Linked DNA regions of Homo sapiens: region 1 is linked to region 2. The links are contacts of gene promoters, found by promoter capture Hi-C in human tissues and cell types (Jung and others, 2019). All regions are on one chromosome and are shown on one strand. Each heading gives the region's core, a stretch centred on a gene start or on the middle of the fragment in contact. The rest is flanking DNA. Distances are from core to core; before and after follow the strand shown.

What was found. Contacts are between HindIII fragments. The study calls those that stand out against the background at their distance.
Region 1: a fragment that was not itself captured here is called in contact with the fragment with the promoter of GPR45 in region 2 in 1 of the 25 tissues and cell types used here (mesendoderm cells).

The regions. Positions count from the first base shown.
Region 1 is chr2:105,199,551-105,204,280 of GRCh38, reverse strand. No RefSeq gene overlaps it. Among named protein-coding and RNA genes, the nearest start is that of GPR45, 40 kb to the left of the region's middle. The HindIII fragment of the contact is 3,263 bases long and covers 1,839-4,730 here.
Region 2 is chr2:105,239,458-105,244,338 of GRCh38, reverse strand. GPR45 (G protein-coupled receptor 45) reads right to left here and starts at 2,596. Exons shown (of 1, transcript NM_007227.3): 1 at 872-2,596. The coding sequence starts at 2,480. The coding sequence ends at 1,362. The HindIII fragment of the contact is 15,889 bases long and covers 1-4,881 here.

The DNA of each region.
Region 1 (4,730 bases), core at 2,221-4,720, 41 kb after region 2:
ATATATTTCTAAGTTAATGCAGAGGGTTTGGGGAAGGTAGTGTGGACTGAGGAACCCAGTTTCCAGAAGCAACAAATGGGTTAGTTTCTAGTGATGCCAACGTCTGTGAGACCCGTGCACCAAAGAGAAGGAAATGGAAAGCAGCATTCATGTGAGTGAGATCCTGTGTTATGGTGTTTACTGATTTCATTTAATTCTCGGAGGAAAAATCATTAATCAGGGCTCTCATCACCATGAAACAGATGAGGAAATTGAGGCTCATAGCAGTTCAGGAACTCACCCCAGGTGCCATGCTTGGTATGCAGTAGAACTGGGACTACATCCCAGGTGCTGGGAGTACTGGCTGCTCTCCCTGCAAATCCACGCACAGAACCGCTGACTATCACAGCTGTCTACACTTTTCTGGTCAACTTGGCCTCCCTCTCTCCTAGAAAGTCCCTTCCATATCTTTTCCTCTCTCTTCAACCCTTGTCATCTCCCACATACCCCTGTGTTGTGTGACTTGCTTCCAGCCTAACAGAACCAGCAGAAGCACCAAGAATAGAGCCGCCACAGGCTGTGCCCAAACCCAGCACAATAATTGCATCTGCCCTCTCCCAGTCACGGCTGAACTGTCGTTAGGAGGCCATCCCCTCCCAACAAGGACACTCTTCCAGTACATCTCCTTTCTGTCTCTTGTATTGTTCATTTCCCTTCACTATTGGCTCACTCCCAACAAAGCACAATATACAAATATACAACAGCACAAATATACAACAGCATCTCACTTTTTTTTTTTTTTTTTTAACAGAGTCAGGATCTTGCTCTGTCACCCAGGTTGGAGTGTAGTGGCATGATCATAGCTCACCACATCCTCGACTTCCTGGGCTGAAGTGATCCTCCTGCTTCAGCCTCCCAAGTAGCTAGGAATTCAGGTGTGTTCCACCATGCCTGGCTATTATTTTTCATTTTTGTAGAGACAGTGTTTTGCTATGTTGCCCAGGCTGGCCTTGAACTGCTAGGCTCAAGCAATTCTCCCACCTCAGCCTTTCAAGTAGCTGGGACTAAAGGTGAATACCATCATGGCTGGCTATTTTTTTGTAGAGACAAGGTCTTGCTGTGTTCCTCAGAATAGCATCTCACATTTTTGAAAGCCCTCCCTGGATTTCACAGTACCCGCTACCCACTGTACAGCAAAGCTTCTTGAAAGAGTTGTCTCTGCTCTTTGTTTCCTCTTTGTCTTTTTCCATTCTCTCTCAACCCCTATCGTGTTCTCTTCCCATCACTTCCACAAAACTGCTCTGTTTGACGTTACCCCATGACCTCCAAAGAAGACATCCCTAGCATATTTCACACCCATCCAGGTCATTTTCAACAGCCTCTCCTCTACACAGCACGATTATAGTCAGCAATAAACTTTGTTTTCTTGATTCATTCTCTAGTTTAAGCACAACTAGAGAAGAGTAAATTTCCATTTCAAAGCTATTCAAATTCAGTATATTTCACAATGAAAATTTGCTCTTATGCAACCAAAACATTGCACCTTGCAGTTTGCACTCTATTTTACTCTCCTAAATTTGAAACACAAATAAAAATGTCAGTTGGTTACACAAAATGACAGAATTGAAGTAACTCAAGTTATGTTTGTTTGTTTGTTTAGAGACAGGATTTCACTCTGTCACTGATATGGTTTGACTCTGTGTCCCTACTCAAATCTCATGCTGAATTGTAATCCCCACATGTCAGGAGAGGGGCCTGGCCGGGGGTGATTGGATCACGGGGGTGGATTTCCTCTTTGCTGTTCTCCTGATAGTGAGTGAGTCTCATAAGATCTGATGGTTTAATAGTGTGGGCACTTCCCCCTTCACTCATGCTCTCTCTCTCTCTCTCTCTCTCTCTCTCCCTCTCTCTCCTGCTTCACCATGGTAAGATGTGTGGGCTTCCCCTTTGCCTTCCTCCATGATTGTAAGTTTCCTGAGGCCTCCCAGCCATGCTTCTGTACAGCCTGCAGAACTGTGAGTCAATTAAACCTCTTTTCTTCATAAATAACCAGTCTCAGGCAGTTCTTTATAGCAGTGTAAAAATGGATTAACTCACCCAGGCTGGAACGCAGTGGTGTCATTATGGCTTAGTGCAGGCTTGAACTCCTGTGCTCAAGCAATCCTCCCACCTCGGCCTCCCTAGTAGCCAGGAATACAGGCAGACATCACCATGTCTGGCTAATTTTTAATTTTTTTTTTGTAGAGATGGAGTCTTACTATGTTGTGCAGGCTGGCCTGTGTTTGTTTGGACCATCTCTCTGCTGTCATTGTCCATGGCAAATCTGTTTAAATGTAGGAATATGGTCTCAAGGGGGCTGGAGATGGTGAACTGGGCTCAAACCATTTTAGACTGTTGCAAATGACTCTAGAAGCAAAAAATTTAGTTGAGTATGCATCTGGAGGGCTGACTATATGCTGGTCATTCTCTCGAGGTACCATTTTATTAAGAGAAAGTAACACAAATGTGCTAATTTGAAGCTTTCACATGTGTTATTTAAACCCAATAACAACTGCAACAATGTTTAGAACTAGACCAATTAAGGATTTTTTTTTACTTACATTGTTCAGAATTGCCACTGCATGGTGAGGATAATAAGAAGGCTCATTTTTAGTCAGTTAATTGTTATTTTTAAATTCTGTCCAGACAACATACCCCCTTATTGCCTACTCCTGGGAAAGACCCCCTCCTGGCCCACCTTCGACATTGCCAAACCCAGTGGTCACTTCTCAGCCCTCATCCTAGCTGACCTGGCCACAGCATTGAACACAATTCCTTCTTCTTAAAACATTTTCTTCACGCGGCCTCTGGTCCCCCAGTGCCTCTGGATTTTCCTTCCGTTTCTCGAGCTGCTCCTTCTCAGTCTCTGTATTGGATCCTCCTCATTTTCACAGCCTCTAAATACTGAAATCACAAGGCTCAGTCCTCAGATGTCTCACTCTGCAGGTGATCTCCTAAAGTCCCAAGGCTTACTAACTGGTAATTCTCTGGAGACGATAATCTCCAGACACTTAAGGGCATCTGTGTGCTGAACACTTGAAAATTTGTATCTCCCAGTTGAGACTTCCTCTCTGAACTCAAATATTTTTATTTTTAAGAGATGGGAATCTCACTCTGTCACCAAGACTAGAGTGCAGTGGTGTGATCACAGCTCAATGCAGCCTCTAACTCCTGAGCTCAAGCAGTCCTCCCACCTATGCCTCCTGAGTAGCTGCGACTACAGGCGTGTGCCACCAAGCCTGGCTAATTTTTAAAATTTTTTATTTGTAGAGATGGAGTCTCACTTTGCTGCCCAAACTAGTCTCAAATTACTGGCCCCAAGTGATCCTCCCACCTTGGCCTCCCAAAGCACTGGGATTACAGGTGCGAGCCATTGTGGTGGCTGCGGATACTTATATTTAACAAATATGTTCTCAACACCTCCACCAGGATGTCTTGCTGGTGCCTCAAATTCACTCCTTGCCCCATCCAAATCCAGCTCTGCATCCAGTCCTTTCTCTGGGCAGATGGCAACTTTAGTTTTCTTGTGGCTTAAATCAAATCTTAGAATTAGTCCTTTGCTCCTCTTTCTTTTATACCCCACATCTAACCCATTAGCAAATCCTGTTCACTTCACCTTCAAAATATATCCAGAACCACCTGACTCTTACCCCTGCACTCTTGTTCAAGCCACCATCATACCTGCTTGGACTATTGCAGTAGCCTCCTATCTCTATTCCTGCTCCTCTACATGAGAGCAAGGGTGGCCATTTCAAAATGTAAGGGAGATCACTTATTCCTTTGCTCAAAACCCTCTTTCCGTCTCACTCAGAACAAATTCCAATACCTTCACCAAAGCTTTTAAGGTCCATTAATAATAATCCAGCACTATCCAAATCTCCAGCCACTATGTACTTTTACCCACTATCATTCTCTAGCCTGCTCACTCTCTGCAGCAACACTGCTTCCTTAATGCTTCTCAAAACTCTCAGTTACATTATTGTCTCAGGGCCTTTACACCAGCTTTCCCTCTTTCCTGGAACACTGTTTCCCCTGATACCTACAAAGTTCACTCCATCATTTTTTTACTTAACAATCATGTGATCAGAAAGGTCCATCTTTTTTAACATTTTTTATTTTTGTGGGTACATAGTAGGCATATATATTTATGGGTTGCATGAGATGTTTTGATACAGACATGCAACCCATAATAATAACATCATTGAAAATGGGGTATCCATCACCTCAAGCATTTATCCTTTGTGTTAGTGTTACGAACAATCCAATTATACTCTTTTATTTTAGAATGTACAATTAAATTATTATTGACTATAGTCACTGTACTAGTCCATGTTCATGTTGCTGGAAAAGACATACCGAGACTGGGCAATTTACATAAGAAAGAAGTTTATTGGATTTACAGTTACACATGGCTGGGGAGGTCTCACAATCATGGTGGAAGTTGAAAGGCACATCTCACATGGTGGCAGACAGGAGAAGAGAGCTTGTGCAGGGAAACTCCCCTTTTTAAGACCATCAGATCTCATGAGACTTATTCACCATCATGAGAACAGCATGAGAAAGACTTGCCCCCATGATTCAATTACCTCCCACTGGGACTCTCCCACAACATGTGGGAATTCAAGATGAGAGTGGGTGGGGACACAGCCAACCATATCAGTCACCCTGTTGTGCTATCAAATACTAGGGCTTATTCATTCTTTTCATTTTTA
Region 2 (4,881 bases), core at 1,347-3,846:
GAGAAACGATCAAGGTCAAATGACTAGTTCCTGATAGAGTCAGACCTGGAATCAGATTTTCTAAATCTCTCCTTAAATTTCCCACCCTCTTCAGATCTGGAACAATAAAGAGAGCTCAGTGGGCTCAGTGCTATGCCCTGGACTCAGGACCCTCATATGCCAGTGTGGGGACCCCTGGTGGTGGCCGAATAGAGCACAAGCAGAGAAGCCCCCTTTGGGCAACTTCACTTCTGGGATCTGGTCCCAGTAGGTAAACAGGATGGCAGCAGTGGATCTGAATGAGGTAGGAGGAACACAGAGACCAGTGGGGACCCCGAGAATTGGGCTCGTTGGTGTGGCACCTGCAGCGGGTCCAGTGCTGAAGTGGATTTGGTGGGTTGAAGGGCTCTGGAGCTCCAGGGTGTCCAAAGGAAATGTGTAAACTAAGCCCAGCCTGCTCACTGCTGACACTGAAAGCAGGTCACTACAGATGCTTGCTCAGCGGGTGAGCTATAGCACACTGGATATGGATGGGAGGAAAACGAAGGGAGGCAGGGAGAGGGGTGGAGGAAAGAGGGAAGGGCCAAGGGGCTCTCCAGCAGACAGGGAGGCCTAGTGGCCTCAGGGTGCAGGGACGGGGTGGGCCCAGCAGGTGGGGGGCGCTGGGGACATGCAGGAGTTCCCGGATGTGCTTCTCACTTCAGCTGGGCTGCCCAGGACCTTCTCTGGGCTTCAAGCCTCTGAGGCCTCCCATGCGTCATTGCAGGGAGCTCAAAGCACAGAGGCTCACTCTGCTTCCCCGTGTGATTTTGGTTTCTTTCTAGAAAAGATACTTAGGCATGGGAAGAAATGCACATCTGATCAACATAAAGAACCTCATGTGAGTCCCCACACACCACAAACATCAATAGCTGAAGAACCCTGGTGTCAAACAAAATGAATGAACACCCAGGAGCTCACACCTACTGGGGTTTCTCAGGGTTTCTCTTGAGCAGGTGCAGAGAGGGCTCGCAGGGCAGGTTGAAGCTCTTGTGACTGACCAGTCCTCCTGCCCCACACTCAACCAGCTTCATTCCCTGTTGCCCTCCTCCTCCCTTTCTGCCCAACTTCTGCACTCCCCAGCCCACTCCATTTTTGACTTAATGACGTTGCAGTTCCCATCAGCCCCATATTTGGCTCTCTGCAAAGAGAAACAAAAATAATTCATCGTGCCAAAATTTGAAATTTGGGAGCTGCAGCTCATCTGATTACAAATGAGTACCTTTGTGCTTAAATTGCCACCACAAAGTGCAGACTATGACCAACATGCCAGGGAACAGAGCAGGACAGATCCACCCTGGGACTGGGGCTCAGCTGCCCCTTCTCTGTGGCCCCCTGACCCCCTAAACCGCAGACTGGTTTTCATTGCACACGTAGACTGTGCTTGGCTGGATTCTCCTTCGGATCCGCTCAGGCACTTTGGGGAGGATTTGGAAGGTCTGGGGCAGCAACTCTATGCAGGCCTCGCGGAATTTTTTGATTCTCCAGCAGTAGACGATGGGGTTGAAGACGGACTTGAGGTAACTGAGCCACAGGACGCAGGTGCTGGTGGCGTAGAAGGAGGAACCGCAGTAAAAGCGCTGGCTAAACACAGACAGGAGGCTGTAGACGGAGTGGGGCAGCCAGCAGAGGGAGAAGCCCACGAAGAGGATCAGGATGGTGGTGAAGGCCTTGGTCTTGAAGCTCAAGTCCACGCTGACCTGTTGCTGCCGCTGCAGGCGCCGCAGGCCCGCCCTGGTGAGCTGCCGCAGGTCCAGGCTGTCCGACTGGTTGTGCACGCGCACGGCGTTCTTGCGGACCGTGTTGAGGATGCACATGTAGGCGCACAGCATGACGCCAAAGGGCGCGAAGAACACGGCCACCACCAAGGTGACCACGTAGGCGCGGTCAGCGGGGAGCTCCGTGTAGCCCAGCACGCACTGTGGGGCCCGCGCCGGCACCTCCACCAGCGTCCAGCCCGTGAGCGAGGGCCCCGCGATGCAGAAGGACAGCACCCAGGAGACCGCGATGATCACCTTGGCCCTGCGCGGGTTCAGCTTGTCCTGGCGCTGGACGATGATGAGGAAGCGGTCCACGCTGATGATGAGCAGGATGGCCACGCCCTCCAGGACAAAAAACCAGTAGAGCGTGGCTGAGAGGCGGCAGAAGTGGTCCCCAAAGTGCCAGCGCACGGTGATGAGGGTGACGGCGGTGAAGGGCATGCAGCAGAGGGACAGCATGATGTCGGAGAAGGCCAGGGTGGCCAGCAGCAGGTTGATGGCCGAGCGCATAGCCGGCCTCTGGTACACGATGATGCAGACCACAGTGTTGCCCAGGAACCCCACCACGGTCATCAGCAGCATCACTATGGCCAAGGAGATCCTGAGGGGTGCGGGCAACTGGGTGGACCCCGAGTCTGAGGCGTTGCTGGTGTTCAGCAGCAGGTATGTGTAAGCCTCAAGGGACGTGCTGTTGCAGGCCATCGTGGAGAGACCCTTGGAGCTGGGACAGAAATGGCCGGGAGGGCTCCCCTCAGCACTTGGGTGGCTGCCATTCTTTGTCTGCTGGCTGCATCTTCCTGGATGTCTGTGGACCTCTGGGGCACTGGAATGGTCTTGGGGAGAAATGTCCGTCTTTGTGAGCACTAGCTGGGATTTGCGATTCATGGATCACATCCTAAGCATCTCTGTGGAGAGCGACTCTGTGCACAGCTTCGTGCTTGGACCCTCTGTAGTGGACAGCAAGCAAAAGTACAAAAGAGAAGGGGGTTAGAGTTTCCAAACGCGTTGAAGAAAGCACGCGTTTAAGCTTTACAGGTGTTTCTAAACAAGTTTATTTACCACGTGGGACAAAGCTTGATATTCACAAATACTGTCTGAGTCTTGTCAAGCAGCCCAGAAAAACCTAATCAGCTATCTTCTGAGGAAACTGAGGAAGTACACTTTGTAGTTAGTGTTTATGTAATAACTTGAGTTTTCAGCAACCTGTCGGAATGAAGCCTTGGTCTAGCCAACTAACGTTAGAATCCTGCTCCACAAGAGAAAGGTTTTGCTTGTTTCATTCTCTGCTATCTCCCAGTACTGACAACAGTGGCTGGCATGCAGTAAGTGTCCTTGTTGAGGACACTTGGATGCTTGTTGAGTAGATGAATAAGTGATAGTTGATGCTGCTGCTATAATATTTGTTTAGCTTTAAAAAACCCCACTTCATCGAGGAATGACTGACATGTCAAAAGCTGTACAAATTTACATCTCAATATACCAGAAACCCATCACCACCAAGGCCAAAAACATATCCCACTCCCCCTGCCAAAGCTCTCTCCTGCCATTTTTCTAGTATTATCATTTTGTTTTGGTGGTAAGAATACTTCACCTAAGATCTGCCCTCTTAGCAAATTTTAAGTATACATTTTTAAGTTTTAATTTTTTAAAAGAAATTGTAAGTCTGTTTGTTTAACTTTATTTGATAAGTGTAAATTCACATGGATAAGTGTAAATTCACATGGAGTTATAATAATAAATACTATGGTGAAATTCTGTGTGTCCTTCACCCAGTTTTCCCTAATGGTAACATCTTGGATAACTGTGGGGCTGCTATACTATTACTTCTGGAAGCACAGACTGGGAGAAGGGAACTTTCCCCAAAGGTAAGGCCTTTTAAAATACAATGTTAGCTGGGTGCAGTGGCTCATGCCTATAATCCCAGCACTTTGAGAGGCAGAGACAGGAGGATTGCTTGAGGCCAGGAGTTCAAGACCTGCCTGGGCAACATAGAGAGATCCCATCTCTACACACACAAAAAAATGAGCCAGGCTTCCATCTATAGTCCCTGCTACTCAGGAGGCCGAGGCAGGAGGATTGCTCAAGCACAGAAGTTCGAGGCTGTCGTGAGCTAAGAAGGTGTCACTGTACTCCAGCCTGGGTAACAGAGTGAGACCCTGTCTCTTAAAAAAAAAGTAAATGAAATGAGCTTTTATTCCTTACATTCTTGATAAACTTGCTTTCACTTTCAAAAAGATAAATATAATTTTAATTTTGTCTCACTGATGTGGCAAGAGTGTGTTCAGTAGCTCAGGTCTGAAGTCACATCGCCTGGGCTGGGGGAAATCCAGCCTGCGCCATTTATCCACCCTGGACATCTGGCTGTTGGATGCACCTCTTCTTGTAAGAAATTTCTCTTTTCTAAATTCCTTGTGGTCATTGTTACAGATAACTCACACTGAGAGGAATGTGGGCAATGTAAGAAGCCAGGAGGCCTCAGAGCAGGCTTAGAGGACCTGGGAGTGGCAGTGTCTTGGTGATGCTATACTTCAGTTTAGACCCAACCAATCCTTGGTCTTCCTTCCCAAACACACCCAGAATGGGTTCATCTCTCAGTGGTGGGCACCAGTATCCAAACTTTTTCTGAGCTATAAAAATCAGAAACCTGGTGTGTTAATTTATAAGTGGGAATTATCTCTCATTCAGACCAAAATTATGACCCTTCTTCATCTCAATTTTCTGATCTGTGAAATGGAGGTAATTACATATTTACCTCCAGAGTTGGTAAATATAATGTGCAATGTCTGGTAAAAGAAGGGCATTAATAAATTAACTCCATCTCCCTCACTGTTTCAAGTTTAGGGGTTTCTGTCTCTTGGATTAAACTGCAAATTTGTTCATGGCAGGAACCATGACATGCATGTAGGAAGCCCTAATGGATTAAGCTCCTCTTGGAGCACAGAATAAAGGACCACTGAGAAAAAACACAGTATCGTGCATCCATGTGCCTGTCAATCTTAGCCGATAGTGAATCCTTCATCTGCATTCCTCTCCATGCTATAAACTTAGATTTTCCCCACAATGATAGTTACAGAGAGTGATTTCATGCTTAATTAAAGGAACA